Linked DNA regions of Homo sapiens: regions 1, 2 and 3 are each linked to region 4. The links are contacts of gene promoters, found by promoter capture Hi-C in blood cells and fetal thymus (Javierre and others, 2016). All regions are on one chromosome and are shown on one strand. The core of a region is centred on a gene start or on the middle of the fragment in contact, and the rest is flanking DNA. Distances in the headings are between cores, read along the strand shown. Region 1 has its middle 16 kb from the start of PDXDC1. Region 2 overlaps MYH11 (myosin heavy chain 11). Region 3 overlaps MYH11 (myosin heavy chain 11). Region 4 holds the start of BMERB1 (bMERB domain containing 1).

What was found. Contacts are between HindIII fragments. The CHiCAGO score rates a contact against its expected background, and 5 or more counts as called.
Region 1: a contact is called between a fragment that was not itself captured here and the fragment with the promoter of BMERB1 in region 4, in 1 of 17 cell types (M1 macrophages). The highest score is 6.8, in M1 macrophages.
Region 2: a fragment that was not itself captured here is called in contact with the fragment with the promoter of BMERB1 in region 4 in 2 of 17 cell types (neutrophils and M0 macrophages); the score reaches 6.2 in neutrophils.
Region 3: a contact is called between a fragment that was not itself captured here and the fragment with the promoter of BMERB1 in region 4, in 2 of 17 cell types (neutrophils and M2 macrophages). The highest score is 6.9, in neutrophils.

What each region holds. Positions count from the first base shown.
Region 1 is chr16:14,957,124-14,960,294 of GRCh38, forward strand. No RefSeq gene overlaps it. Among named protein-coding and RNA genes, the nearest start is that of PDXDC1, 16 kb to the right of the region's middle. The HindIII fragment of the contact is 1,982 bases long and covers 260-2,241 here.
Region 2 is chr16:15,731,051-15,733,948 of GRCh38, forward strand. It overlaps MYH11 (myosin heavy chain 11), which reads right to left. Exons shown (of 41, transcript NM_002474.3): 27 at 1,514-1,658. Among named protein-coding and RNA genes, the nearest start is that of NDE1, 82 kb to the left of the region's middle. The HindIII fragment of the contact is 3,974 bases long and covers 1-2,898 here.
Region 3 is chr16:15,749,870-15,752,757 of GRCh38, forward strand. MYH11 (myosin heavy chain 11) reads right to left here. Exons shown (of 41, transcript NM_002474.3): 16 at 269-462. Among named protein-coding and RNA genes, the nearest start is that of NDE1, 100 kb to the left of the region's middle. The HindIII fragment of the contact is 3,541 bases long and covers 1-2,888 here.
Region 4 is chr16:15,433,253-15,436,319 of GRCh38, forward strand. It overlaps BMERB1 (bMERB domain containing 1), which reads left to right and starts at 1,336. Exons shown (of 6, transcript NM_033201.3): 1 at 1,336-1,507. The coding sequence starts at 1,402. All of the region lies in intron 1 of MPV17L-BMERB1 (MPV17L-BMERB1 readthrough), which reads left to right. RefSeq lists an enhancer at 1,640-2,262. The HindIII fragment of the contact is 15,111 bases long and covers 1-3,067 here.

The sequences.
Region 1 (3,171 bases), core at 1-2,500, 480 kb before region 4:
TCCGGAGTAAACTTCTGTTAGATTTCTCCCAGCTGGGCAGGCTTCCAGCTCACCAAAACATCTCCTTCTTTGCTTTTTACTTATATCCCCCTTGTATCATTTTTCCATGGCTGAGGTAACAAATTACCACGAATTTAATGGCTTAAAAGAACACAAACTTCTTGTCTTAGAATTTGGGGTGTCAGAGTCTAAAATGGGTCTGCAGGACTGCATTCCTCCTGGAGGTCCTAAAGGAGAGTTCATTTTCTTGCCTCTTCCAAGCTTCTAGATGCTCCCTGCACTCCTTGGCTCCCCATCCAACATCTTCAAAGTCAGCAGCATAAATCTTCCCATCTCCCTTTCTCTCTCTTTTTTTTAGACAAAGTCTTACTCTGTCACCTAGGCTGGAACGCAGTGGTACAGTCATAGCTCACTGCAGCCTCAAACCCCGAGGCTGAAGTGATCCTCCCGCCTCAGCCTCACGAGTAGCTGGGACCACAGGCATGCACCACCATGCCTGGCTGATTTTTAATTTTTTATAGAGACAGGCTCTTGCTATGTCACCAGGGCTGTCTTGAATTTGGGAGCCCGCGATCAGAAGCCAGCATGGTCGGCAGCTCCCTACACCACGTCCGGGCTTCCCGGGCCTCCAGCTGCCCCCTGCGCCGCCGCCGCCTCCCGCACCTGCACGTGGCCACTCCAGATGCTCCGGAGGGATTGAGCACCCCGCGCACACCCAGCTCACACCATCCAATCCGGAGGCCATGGGCCGACATGGGGGCTGAGCGTTTGAAATGAGCCCGGACCACCAGATGCATGGGTCCGTTCACACGAAATACCCAGAACAGGCAAAGCCACAGAGGCAGAAAGTATGGGGTTATTTATTTTAATTAATTAATTAATTGTTTTGAGACGTAGTCTCCTCTGTCGCCCAGGCTAGAGTGCCGATCCCTATGTTAGCTTGATGTGGTGGCTCATATCTGTAATCACAGCACTTTGGTAAGCTGAGGCGGGAGGATCGCTTGTCAGGCCAAGAGTTCAAGACCAGTCTGGGCAAAATAGTGAGACCCCCCTGCTATGGTTTGGATTTGGGTCCCTGCCCAAATCTCATGCCGAATTATAATCCCCAGTGTTAGGGGAGGGACCTGGTGGGAGGTGATTGGATCATGGGGGGAGAGTGCCTCCTTGCTGTTCTCCTGATAGTGAGTGAGTTCTTATGAGATCTGGTTGGTTTAAAAGCATGTAGCGCTTCCCCCTTCTCTCCCTTCCTCCTGCTCCAGCTATGTAAGATGTGCGTGCTTCCCCTTTGCCTTCCGCCATGATTCAAAGTTTCCTGAGGCCTCCCAGCCATGCCTCCTGCACAGCCTGTGGAACTGTGAGTCAATTAAACCTCTTTTCTTTATAAATTACCCAGTCTCAGGGAGTTCTTTATAGCAATGCAAGAACGGACTGATACAACCTCCATATCTACAAAAAAAAAAAAAAATTGTTTTAATTACCTGAGCATGGTGGTGCACACCTGTAGTCCCAGCTACTCTGGAGGCCAAGGCAGGAGGATCACTCCAGCCTGGGCAACAAGAGCGAAATTCCGTCTCAGAAAAAAAAAAAAAAATTAAAAAATTTAAAAAACGTAAAGAAAAAAATTATTTTGCTAAATCTGGCAAAGCCAAAGGGATGAAACTGACATTTACTGGGCACCTTCTGCACAAGTCAGTTCTCCTAGGAACCCAGAGAGGCAAGGGATTGGTAGCAATCTCTAGAGGCAAATATCCTCTAATATCCATGGTGTTCTTTGTGGAGCAGCTCAATGGATTTACTTAATGGGAAATGAAAGAAGGAAAAATGAAGACTTAGAAGGCTTCGATGATTTCCAATGCATTACTGTATACTTATCTCTTCTTAGAAGCAATAGAAAAAAAAATCAGGAATTAAAGACAATCTATTACTCAAGCAAATGCTAAAGGCCTCCCATGGTCTTCAAACAAGAAGAGATGCTCTAAGATAAATTACTTCATTACGTTGATGCTTCATCATCCGTGGAAGCTGTGACTCAGAGCCCTGCAGCAATAATTAGGCAGTGCGTTCATGTCCCGTTAATGTCCCCAAACAGTGGGAGATGAATGGAGAACATAGGGCTGTGTTCGAATGAAAAAAGGGTTTTGTTCGGCGCTCTTTCAGCAGGGAATAAGTACTGATGTGGGAACTGAGCTTCTGTTTACAACTAAGGATCACATTAAAAATATATTAAGATGACTACAGTAAAGCTTATTGTAGCTATTATTATTTCATTTAAATGAATCCCAGTTTCATAAGAACCACCAAGGGGGCTACCATGTCTAAAATGTAACTTCTCTGCGAATCCTGAAATTTCTACTGACAAAAGACTACGATGCACAATTAATTAATTAATTAATTAATTAATTTGAGATGGAGTCCCACTCTGTCACCCAGGCTGGAGTGCAGTGGCACGATCTCAGCTTGCTGCAACCTTTGCCTCCCGGGTTCAAGCGATTCTCTTGCCTCAGCCTCCTGAGTAGCTGGGATTACAGGCATGCGCCACCACGCCTGGCTAAATTTTTTCGTATTTTTAGTAGAGATGGGGTTTCGCCATGTTGGCCAGGCTGGTCTAGAACTCCTAACCTCAGGAGATCTGCCTGCCTCGGCCTCTCAAAGTGCTGGGATTACAGGCGTGAGCCACCATGCCCGGCCAACACGCAACATGTTTAAGACCAAAAGGACTGTTTTGCAATGAAGCAGATGAATCAACCAGTAAGGCCAACCCCTCAAAAAATGTAGCACTGAAGTTTCTTCAACATCTGCCTCTGAGACTTGTTCATATGTGCAGACACAGAGCAGGAAACTAAAGCAACTGCCTTCCTCTTTGTCACCTGAAATGAGAATGGAGAGAGGCTGGCAAGGAAATGATATGTAATCTTCCCTCCTTCCTGATTTTCTTTTCTATCCTTTTTTTTTTGAGTTGGAGTCTCGCTCTGTCACCCAGGCTGGAGTGCAGTGGCACAATCCCAGCACTTTGGGAGGCTGACGGGGGTAGATTACTTGAGGCCAGGAGTTTGATACCAGCCTGGCCAACATGGTGAAACCCCATCTCTACTAAAAATACAAAAAATTAGCCAGGCGTGGTGGCATGTGCCTGTAATCCCAGCTACTTGGGAGGCTGAGCATGAGAACTGC
Region 2 (2,898 bases), core at 371-2,870, 300 kb after region 4:
GGCTCAAGCAATCCTCCCTCCTTGGCCTCCCAAAGTGTTAGGATTACGGGAGGCATGAGCCGCCATGCCTGGCCTTCCTCCAGTCTGCAGAGAAATTAAAGTGGATAGAATGATCCCAGTTTTAAGTTTCATTTAAATCTCCCCGAAAGTGTTGTTACACCTTTGCTTATCCCTGAAGGGCAGTATATTGATAGGCCCCACCCATCCTATAGGCCTTCAGTCCTGTAGAGGCCAGAAAGTGGGGTCTAGGACCAGACTGTTTGGGTGCAAATCATGGCTCTGTCACTTACCAGCAGTGTGACCTTGGGTAAGTCTCTTCACCTCTAGGCACCTAGGACCTCAGTTTCTTTGCTTGTAAAATGAGTTTAATAGTACACGTCTCACAGGGTGGTTGTGAAGATTAATTGACATACTGTATGAGAAGCATTTCTATTCATTCTTTTTTTTTTTTCTTTTTTTGAGATGGCGGCTCACTCTGTCGCCCAGACTGGAGTGCAGTAGCACGATCTGAGCTCACTGCAACCTCTTCCTCCTGGGTCCAAGTGATTGTCCTGCCTCAGCCTCCCGAGTAGCTAAGATTACAGGCACATGCCACCACACCCAGCTAATTCTTTATATTTTTGGTAGAGATGGGGTTTCACCATGTTGGCCAGGCTGGTCTCGAACTCCTGAGCTCAAGTGATTTGCCCGCCTTGCCTCCCAAATTGCTGGGATTACAGACATGGTGAGCCACCGTGCCCAGCCTATTTTTATTGTTTGATTAAGGTCTCACTGTGTCGTCCAGGCTAGAGTGCAGTGGCATGACAGGGCTCACTGCAGCCTCAACCTCCCAGGCTCAAACGATCCTCCCACCTCAGCCTCCCAAATAGCTGGGACCACAGGAATGCACTACCAGGCCTGGCCAATATTTTATTTTATTTTATTTTTTTGAGATGGAATCCTGCTCTGTTGCTCAGGCTGGAGTGCAATGGCATGATCTCTGCTCACTGCAACCTCTGCCTCCTGGGTTCAAGTGATTCTCCTGCCTCAGCCTCCCGAGTAGCTGGGATTACAGGCATGCACCACCGCGCCCGGCTAATTTTTTGTATTTGTAGTAGAGATAGGGTTTCGCCATGTTGGCCAGGCTGGTCTCGAACTCCTGACCTCAGGTGATCCACCCAGTTTGGCCTCCCAAAGTGCTGGGATTACAGGCTTGAGCCACCACGCCTGGCCTACTTTTTTAAAATTTTAGTAGAAACAAGGTCTCACTATGTTGCCCAGGCTGGTCTCCAACTCCTGAGCTCAAGCGATCCTCCCGCCTCAGCCTCCCCAAGTACTGGGATTACAGGCGTGAGCCACCTCACCCAGCCTGTATGGGAAGCATTTTGTAAATAAATATAAGCTGCTATCATCATCATTAGAATCTTATGTAACTTGTTTTTTGTCTTTATGCAGACCCTGACCTGTAGTAATTTGAGGCTGCTGATGTCACTCTTATGTGTCATCACCAAAAAGCATCACCAAAAAGCATTACCCTCTTGAACTGCTCAAGCTGCTCTGTGAGCTCCTCCACCGCCTGTGCGTGTTTCTGCCTCATCTCCTGGACCTGAGCCTCATGGGACCGCGTCTCTTCATCCAGGGCCTTCTTCAGCACCGTCACCTCCTGCTCCCTCTTGGCCCTTGGTGGGAGGAACACAGTGAATGGCAGTTGGGTGGAGACAGAGGGTCATCTCAGTGCCGTGCAAAAGAATGAGAGCTCTTCCAGGACCCAGAGCTGCAGTCCTCATCACCACCCCTCTCTAGCTGTGTGACCTTGGGTCATTCACCTAACATCTCTGGACCTAAAATTTCCTCAGCTGCAAAATGTGGAGCATATCACCTGCCTAGGACATCTGTAATGACTGGCAAACAAATACACAAAGTAATAGAATTGAAAGGATGTCTGTGAACTGCAAAATTTTGCTTAAATATTAATGTTGGCTCTTATTTAATGAGCAGTTACTATATGCCAGGCCCTGAGCTAAGTTTTTTATATACATCATCTAATCCTCAGAGCAACCCAAAGAGGCAGGTGTGTTATTATTTCCATTTTACAAATGAGGAAACTAAGGCTAAGAGAGGGTAAGCAGTTTTACCCATGGTGTCACAGCCATTGTGTGATGGAGCCAGAATTAGAAGCTAAACCTTGACCTTGAGTCCATGGTTTTGTTTGTTTGTTTTTGAGATGGAGTTTCACTCCTGTTGCCCAGGCTGGAGTGCGACAGCGCAATCTTGGCCCCCTGCAACCTCCACCTCCCGGGTTCAAGCGATTCTCCTGCCTCGGCCTCCTAAGTAGCTGGGATTACAGGTGCCCACCACCACGCCCGGCTAATTTTATATTTTTAGTAGAGATGGGGTTTCAACATGTTGGTCAGGCTGGTTTCGAACTCCTGACCTCAGGTGATCCACCCGCCTCAGCCTCCCAAAGTGCTGGGATTACAGGTGTGAGCCACCGCACTCAGCCTGGTTTTTTGTTTTGTTTGTTTGTTTTTCTTATCGAGTCTTGCTCCGTCGTCCAGACTGGAGTACAGTGGAATGATGTCAGCTCACTGCAACCTCTGCCTCCCAGGTTCAAGGGATTCTCCTGCCTCAGTCTCCCAAGTAGCTGGGATTACCGACGCCCACCACCACGCCCGGCTAATTTTTGTCTTTTTAGTAGAGACAGGTTTTCATGATGTTGGCCAGGCTGGTCTCGAACTCCTGACCTCAGGTGATCTGTCTGCTTCAGCCTCCCAAAGTGCTGGGATTACAGGCATGAGCCACCATACCTGGCCCATGCACTGGGCTCTTCTGTATCAAAGGCCAAGCGGCAAGGGAGCAGAACGCTGTGCTCTATGTGCATGTGACACTGCACAAAACCCAAAGTGGGGGAAGTAAACC
Region 3 (2,888 bases), core at 130-2,629, 320 kb after region 4:
AGCCCAGTGAATACTTCCTGGGATAATGAATGAATGAGTGGCTGGATGACCTGCACAGCAACTCCACAACTGAAAAGTCTCTGGATGCATCCTCCCTTCCTCCTTTTCCTCCAGGGATGGGGAATGGGTCTGAGATTCAGATAGCCTTCCCCACATGGAAAATGGGGTCCTCGGGGTAGGTGGGGGCAGAGGGCGCCCTGGGGACGCTGTGACCGCTTGGGACAGCCCTGGCTTCTGGGAGCCCCAGGGTCTGGGCGGCGGGCCTCACCCTCTTCTCGTGGTTGGGGATGATGCAGCGCACGAAGTTGGGCGTGGTGTTGCGTAGCGTGGTCATCAGCTTGCCCAGCTGCTCCTTGTACAGCTGCCCCACTGTGCGGAACATGCCCTTCTTGGTCTTGGAGGCGCTGGGCAGCGAGCTCTCCGTCATCTTGGCCATCTGGTCCAGGCCCACGATGCGGTCCACTATGGGGCACAGCCAGGGTGGCATCAGCCTCTGGCCCACCCACCCCTAAATAGGCCAGAGGCTCAGCCCCAGCCCCACCCACCAACCTGCCCACTCCAATCTTTCCTTCCATCACCAACGCCTCCTTCGGCAGTCAGGGTTTCCAAGTATTGTCTATTGGGGAAATCCTGAGAGCACCTGAGTGGCAGAAAGAACAAATTCCCTGTGATGGAGTCACGCTGACCTAGGAGTCAAGCCTGCTCTCGCTGTCCACTCACTGACTAGCCTTGGCTTGGCACTATCCTGTGCCTCAGTCTCCCTTTCTACAAAAGGGAGGTAATAATACCGTCTACCTTCTAGGGCAGGGGTAAAAAAAAATAAGGCACAGAAGGCACTTATTCCCTGCCAGCCTCCAATCTTTCATCCACCAACAAATAGTTATTGAGGACCTTCTGTGCTCCAGGCCCTGGGGACACTGCTGTGAACAAAAAAAGACCCGGCCCCCTCACCCCGCTTATATCACAGGGAAGGAGACAGACAGAGATCACAGATGTTAAGTATGGAATATCTTGAGTAGTGAGGTGTGCGTAGAAAAATAAAAATAGGGTAAAGCGGAGAGAGAGTGAAGAGGGTGCTCTCTTAGACAAGGAGGTGGTGGGCTCTGCTAAGTTGATATTTGAGCAGAAACCAGCAAGAAATGAGTGGGTAACCATGTAGGTATCCACGGAAGAAATATTCTGAGGCAGAAGATACAGCACACACTCCGAGATAGCCTGGCACATCAGTAAGTGCTCAACAAAAAGTAGGTATTATTATTATTATTATTATTATTATTATTATTATTATTATCATTATTTTATTTTATTGAGACGGAGTTTCACTCTTGTTGGCCAGGCTGGAGTGCAATGGCGTGATCTCGGCTCACCACAACGTCCGCCTCCCGGGTTCCAGCAATTCTCCCGCCTCAGCCTCCCAGTAGCTGGGATTACAGGCATGCGCCACCACGCCCGGCTCATTTTTTTTATATTTTTAGTAGAGACAGAGTTTCTCCATGTTGGTCAGGCTGGTCTCGAACTCCTGACCTCAGGTGATTCCCCTGCCTTGGCCTCCCAATGTGCTGGGATTACAGGCGTGAGCTACCGCGCCCGGCCATCATCATCATCATCATCATCATCATCATCATCACCTCCAAGGTTCTTTTTCTACCAGCCCAGCAGGTCCTGCACATGCCAAGCCCAACCCACAGGCCATGGATGGCACCATTTCTTCACCTTCTACTCAGATTCTGTGTAACAATCTTTTTTTTTTTTTTTTTTTTTTGAGACAAGCTCTCACTCTGTCGCCCAGCTGGAGAGCAGTGGCACGATCTTGGCTCACTGCAACCTTCACCACCCAGGTTCAGGTGATTCTCCTGCCTTAGCCTCCTGAGTAGCTGGGATTACAGGCACCCACCAGCACACCCGGCTAATTTTGTTTTTATTTTTTATTTTTAGTTTTATTTTTTCAAGACAGAGTCTTGCTCTTTTGCCCAGGCTGGAGTCCAATGGCACAATCTCAGCTCACTGCAACCTGCGCCTCCCAGGTTCAAGCAGTTCTCCTGCCTCAGCCTCCCGAGTAGCTGGGATTACCACCACCACGCCCAGTTAGTTTTTGTATTTTTAGTAGAGATGGGGTTTCGCCACGTTGGCCAGACTGGTCTCGAACTCTTGACCTCAACTGATCCTCCTGCCTCAGCCTCCCAAAGTGCTGAGATTACAGGTGTGAGCCACCATGCGCAGCCTCATGCTTGTCTCTCTGCTTGTCTTTGAGAGTCTCATCTCTCCCACAAGACTGTGGGTCCCGCAGAGGAGGGACTACAGGCTTCATCATGTGTCCTGGGATGACACAGACCCAGGGTGCGATGTTGTTCCCTAGGCCCAGAGCCTGGCATATGGTTAGGGCACAGCTGGCCCCTCCTGGAGCCCTTTTTTTAGCATGCTTAAAACAAGGGGAGACCAGTCCTGTAAGCCCCAGGCCCATGGGCCCTGTGCCAAGAATAAAACCTGCTGTGGACACTGATGGCCAGGGACAAACAGCAAACCCCCTCCCCTCATCATCACTCCAGCAGCTCTTCACAGGGATCATCTATTCACTGGTTCTCAAAGGGAGCCGGAGTGTGGTCCCTAGACCAGCAGCATCACCTGGGATGAATGTTTTCAGGCCCGCCCCATCCCTGGCCCCAGACCTGCAGAATTAGATCTTAGGGTAGGCCCAGCCATCTGGGTTTTAAAAAGCCCTCCAAAGAGGGCCAGGTGCAGTGGCTCACACCTGTAATCCCAGCACTTTTTGAGGCTGAGGTGGGCGGATCACCTGAGGTCAGGAGTTTGAGACCAGCCTGGCCAACATGGGGGAACCCCGTCTCTACTAAAAATACAAAAATTAGCCAGGTATGGTGGTGTGTGCCTGT
Region 4 (3,067 bases), core at 86-2,585:
CACTCCAGCCTGGGTGACAGAGAGAAAAAAACAGTTGTACCAATTTATACTCCCACTAGCATTAGATAAAAGTTCAAATTATGCCAGGCATGGTGTCTCACATCTGTAACCCCAGCATTTTTGGACTCTGTCTCAAAAAAAAAATCCACATCTTTTACAACACATGATTGTTAGATTTTTTAGTTTTTGCCTATCGGATGATATATTCTTATTTACATTTTCATTTTCCTTATTACTAAGGGGGTTGAGCAGCTTCTCACATTAGGCCTTCCTCCTCTGCCCACATGACATGACTATTCATATTCTTTCCCTGTTTCCTACTGGGATATCATTTTCTTTTTTTCGTTTCTTTTCTTTTTTTGAGACGGAGTTTTCCTCTTGTTGCCCAGGCTGGAGTGCAATGGCATGATCTCGGATGACTGAAACCTCTGCCTCCCAGGTTCAAGCGATTCTCCTGCCTCAGCCTCCCGAGTAGCTGGAATTACAGGCCTGCGCCATCACAGCTGGCTAATTTTTGTATTTTCAGTAAAGATGGGGTTTCACCATGTTGGCCAGGCTAGTCTCAAACTCCTGGCCTCAAGTGATCCACCCACCTCGGCCTCCCAAAGTGCTGGGATTACAGGCATGAGCCATCGTGCCCAGGCACTGCCATGGTGTTTTTTGTTTGTTTGTTTGTTTGTTTTTAAAGATAAACCTCTGGGGTTTCTGGAAAGTAAAGCCCCATGCTCCAAACAGCTCTGCTATACCTGTGTGCAAAATATTTTCATCTCTCTCTCTCTCTCCCCAAAGTGCATGCAAACACATATGGAACTGACATAGGCATCCACTGTCGCACTTCAAATTAAACAGACGCACACGACAGATATTCTCACAGAAAAGCAGTCAGCCAAGCCCAGAACCCATAGATCTAGGTCCACACTCACGCCTCTGCATGCTCCCCAGAAAGACGGATGCATCGCCCGCAGGTAGAGACGGGCTCACCAATCCCACTCAAAACCCGCTGCCGGCTTACAGCTCGCAAGCCGCCCACAGTGCCAGCCCCATGCCAAGCATCACTAGGGGCTCTAGAATAGGCAGGGGCCTTGTTCTCACTTCCTTTGTGTTGCTTTTATTTTAGTTGTTTTGTTTGTTGTTTTTCTTAGAGTTATCACCTGCCCCTCTGTCTCCCTACCCAGCCCCCAAGCCTCCCCTCCAAGCCTCCACTGCGCATGTGCCGTGCATCCCTGCCCCTTCTGGGTACCCGTAGGCGCTCCCGGGCGCTGGCGGCGGCGGAGGAGAGGGAGCAGCGTCACGGGCGCCCGGCCCGTTAAAACGCTGCTGGCTGGAGCCACCTCCCTCCCTGCAGCCCGCAACGGGAATGGAGTAAAGGGAGACCCGTCGACCTGGCCACGGGGATCAGCGATGGAATTAAAGCAATCTTTGTCCACCCATCTGGAAGCCGAGAAGCCTCTGAGGCGCTATGGGGCGGTGGAGGAGACGGCTTGGAAAACGGAGAGACTGGGGAGAAGTGAGTACTGGGGCGGGGGGCGGGGGGCCGGGGACAGCTGGGGATCCATGCGCCTGCGCGGGTGGTCGCGGGAGCGCGAGGAACGCCAGCAGTGGACCCAGGGAAGCGCCCCCGCAGCGGGGCTGGCAGCTCAGGGGGATACGCAGCTCTGCGCAGCGACGCGCTCTCCCCGCGAACAAAAGGGGGGGACCCTCCGGGCTGAGCCTCACTGGGAGGGTTGGGAGATGGCCAGGCAGCTAAGGCAGGAGCCTGGGCTCGACTTAGGAGTCCCGGATCCGTCAGCTCGCAGCTGGTCCTGTGAAGTCGGGTCTCTCCCACAGCCCAGGGAGGAGGATCCTCTCTCCGCCTGGGATGCGCCAGGGCGCTGGAGACGCGGGACCGTCCTGGAAAGCGCCCACGTCCCTGGAGAGGGGGGAGTGTCTGCTGGTTTTCCGCTTGCTTTCCTACCCCCTGCGTGAGGTTTCGGAGCGCACCTGAAATTCCCAGCTTTTCCTCCCTCGCCTTCCTTGGGTCGGGGTGGGAGGCTTGGGGCGGCAAAAGGGTCAAAAGGCACACACCGTTCTCTTTTCTCTCTTGACTCAGTTAAAGTCTGCTTGGGCACAACTCTAGAAGGCAGTTTCGAAATAGACCGGCTGTATTTATTTACTGGTTCTCTCTGCGGTGTTTGGATGTCAACATTTCTAAGTAAACGAAGGATTTTGTTTTTCATTAATAGGATACAATAGTTGAAACTCCTGCCCTCAAAGTGTAGAGGCAGCGTCAGGGGCTCCAGGGTCACTGGAGGTCCCTGCAAACCCGGGGGCTCCCCAAAGCCGCTGCTCTCACATGGCTTGCCCACCAGGCTGGGAAGGAGAGGTCCTTCTCAGGGACCCGGCAGCTTCCTGCCTCGGCTCTGGGTCACTGCTCCGCGCTCTGCCCCAGCACGGATCTCTGAGCGATGTAGGGCTAAAGTATTGTGAATGTGATCTTATTCTGTCCTCACCTGGTGGAAAATTGTGTGTGCGCGCTTTCTTTCTCTATACCTGTAATTATGGATTTAGAAAATCTTCCTAGAAGGGCTCAACTGTGTTCTGATTCTGACGGGTTGAAGTTGAAATCACAATCCAATGTCTTAGTGGTTCATGGGCTAGGATGGATGTCATAGCACTGCCAACCTCTTTCCTTTTCTTTTTTTTTCTCCCTTTTTAACCTTGGTCTTTCTTTCTAGTTCATCCTTTCAAGACCCAATGACTTGGTGCTTTGGCATAATATCAGGGCGTCAGGGCTGAGGGTCTCTGTTTCTTTCTTTAATTTTTAAGTGCACATAGTGGGTGTCCATATTTATGGAATACATGAGATATTTTGATACAGGCATACAATGTGTAATAATCACATCAGGGTAAACGGGGTATCCAAAACCTCAAGCATTTATCCTTTTTTTTGTGTTACAAACAATCCAATTACACTCCTTTTTTAAAAAAGCCCAGCTGTGTGACTAATTATACTCTTTTAGTTTAGCTTTTTTTTTTTTTTTTTTGAGACGGAGTTTCGCTCTTGTTGCCCAGACTGGAGTGCAATGAC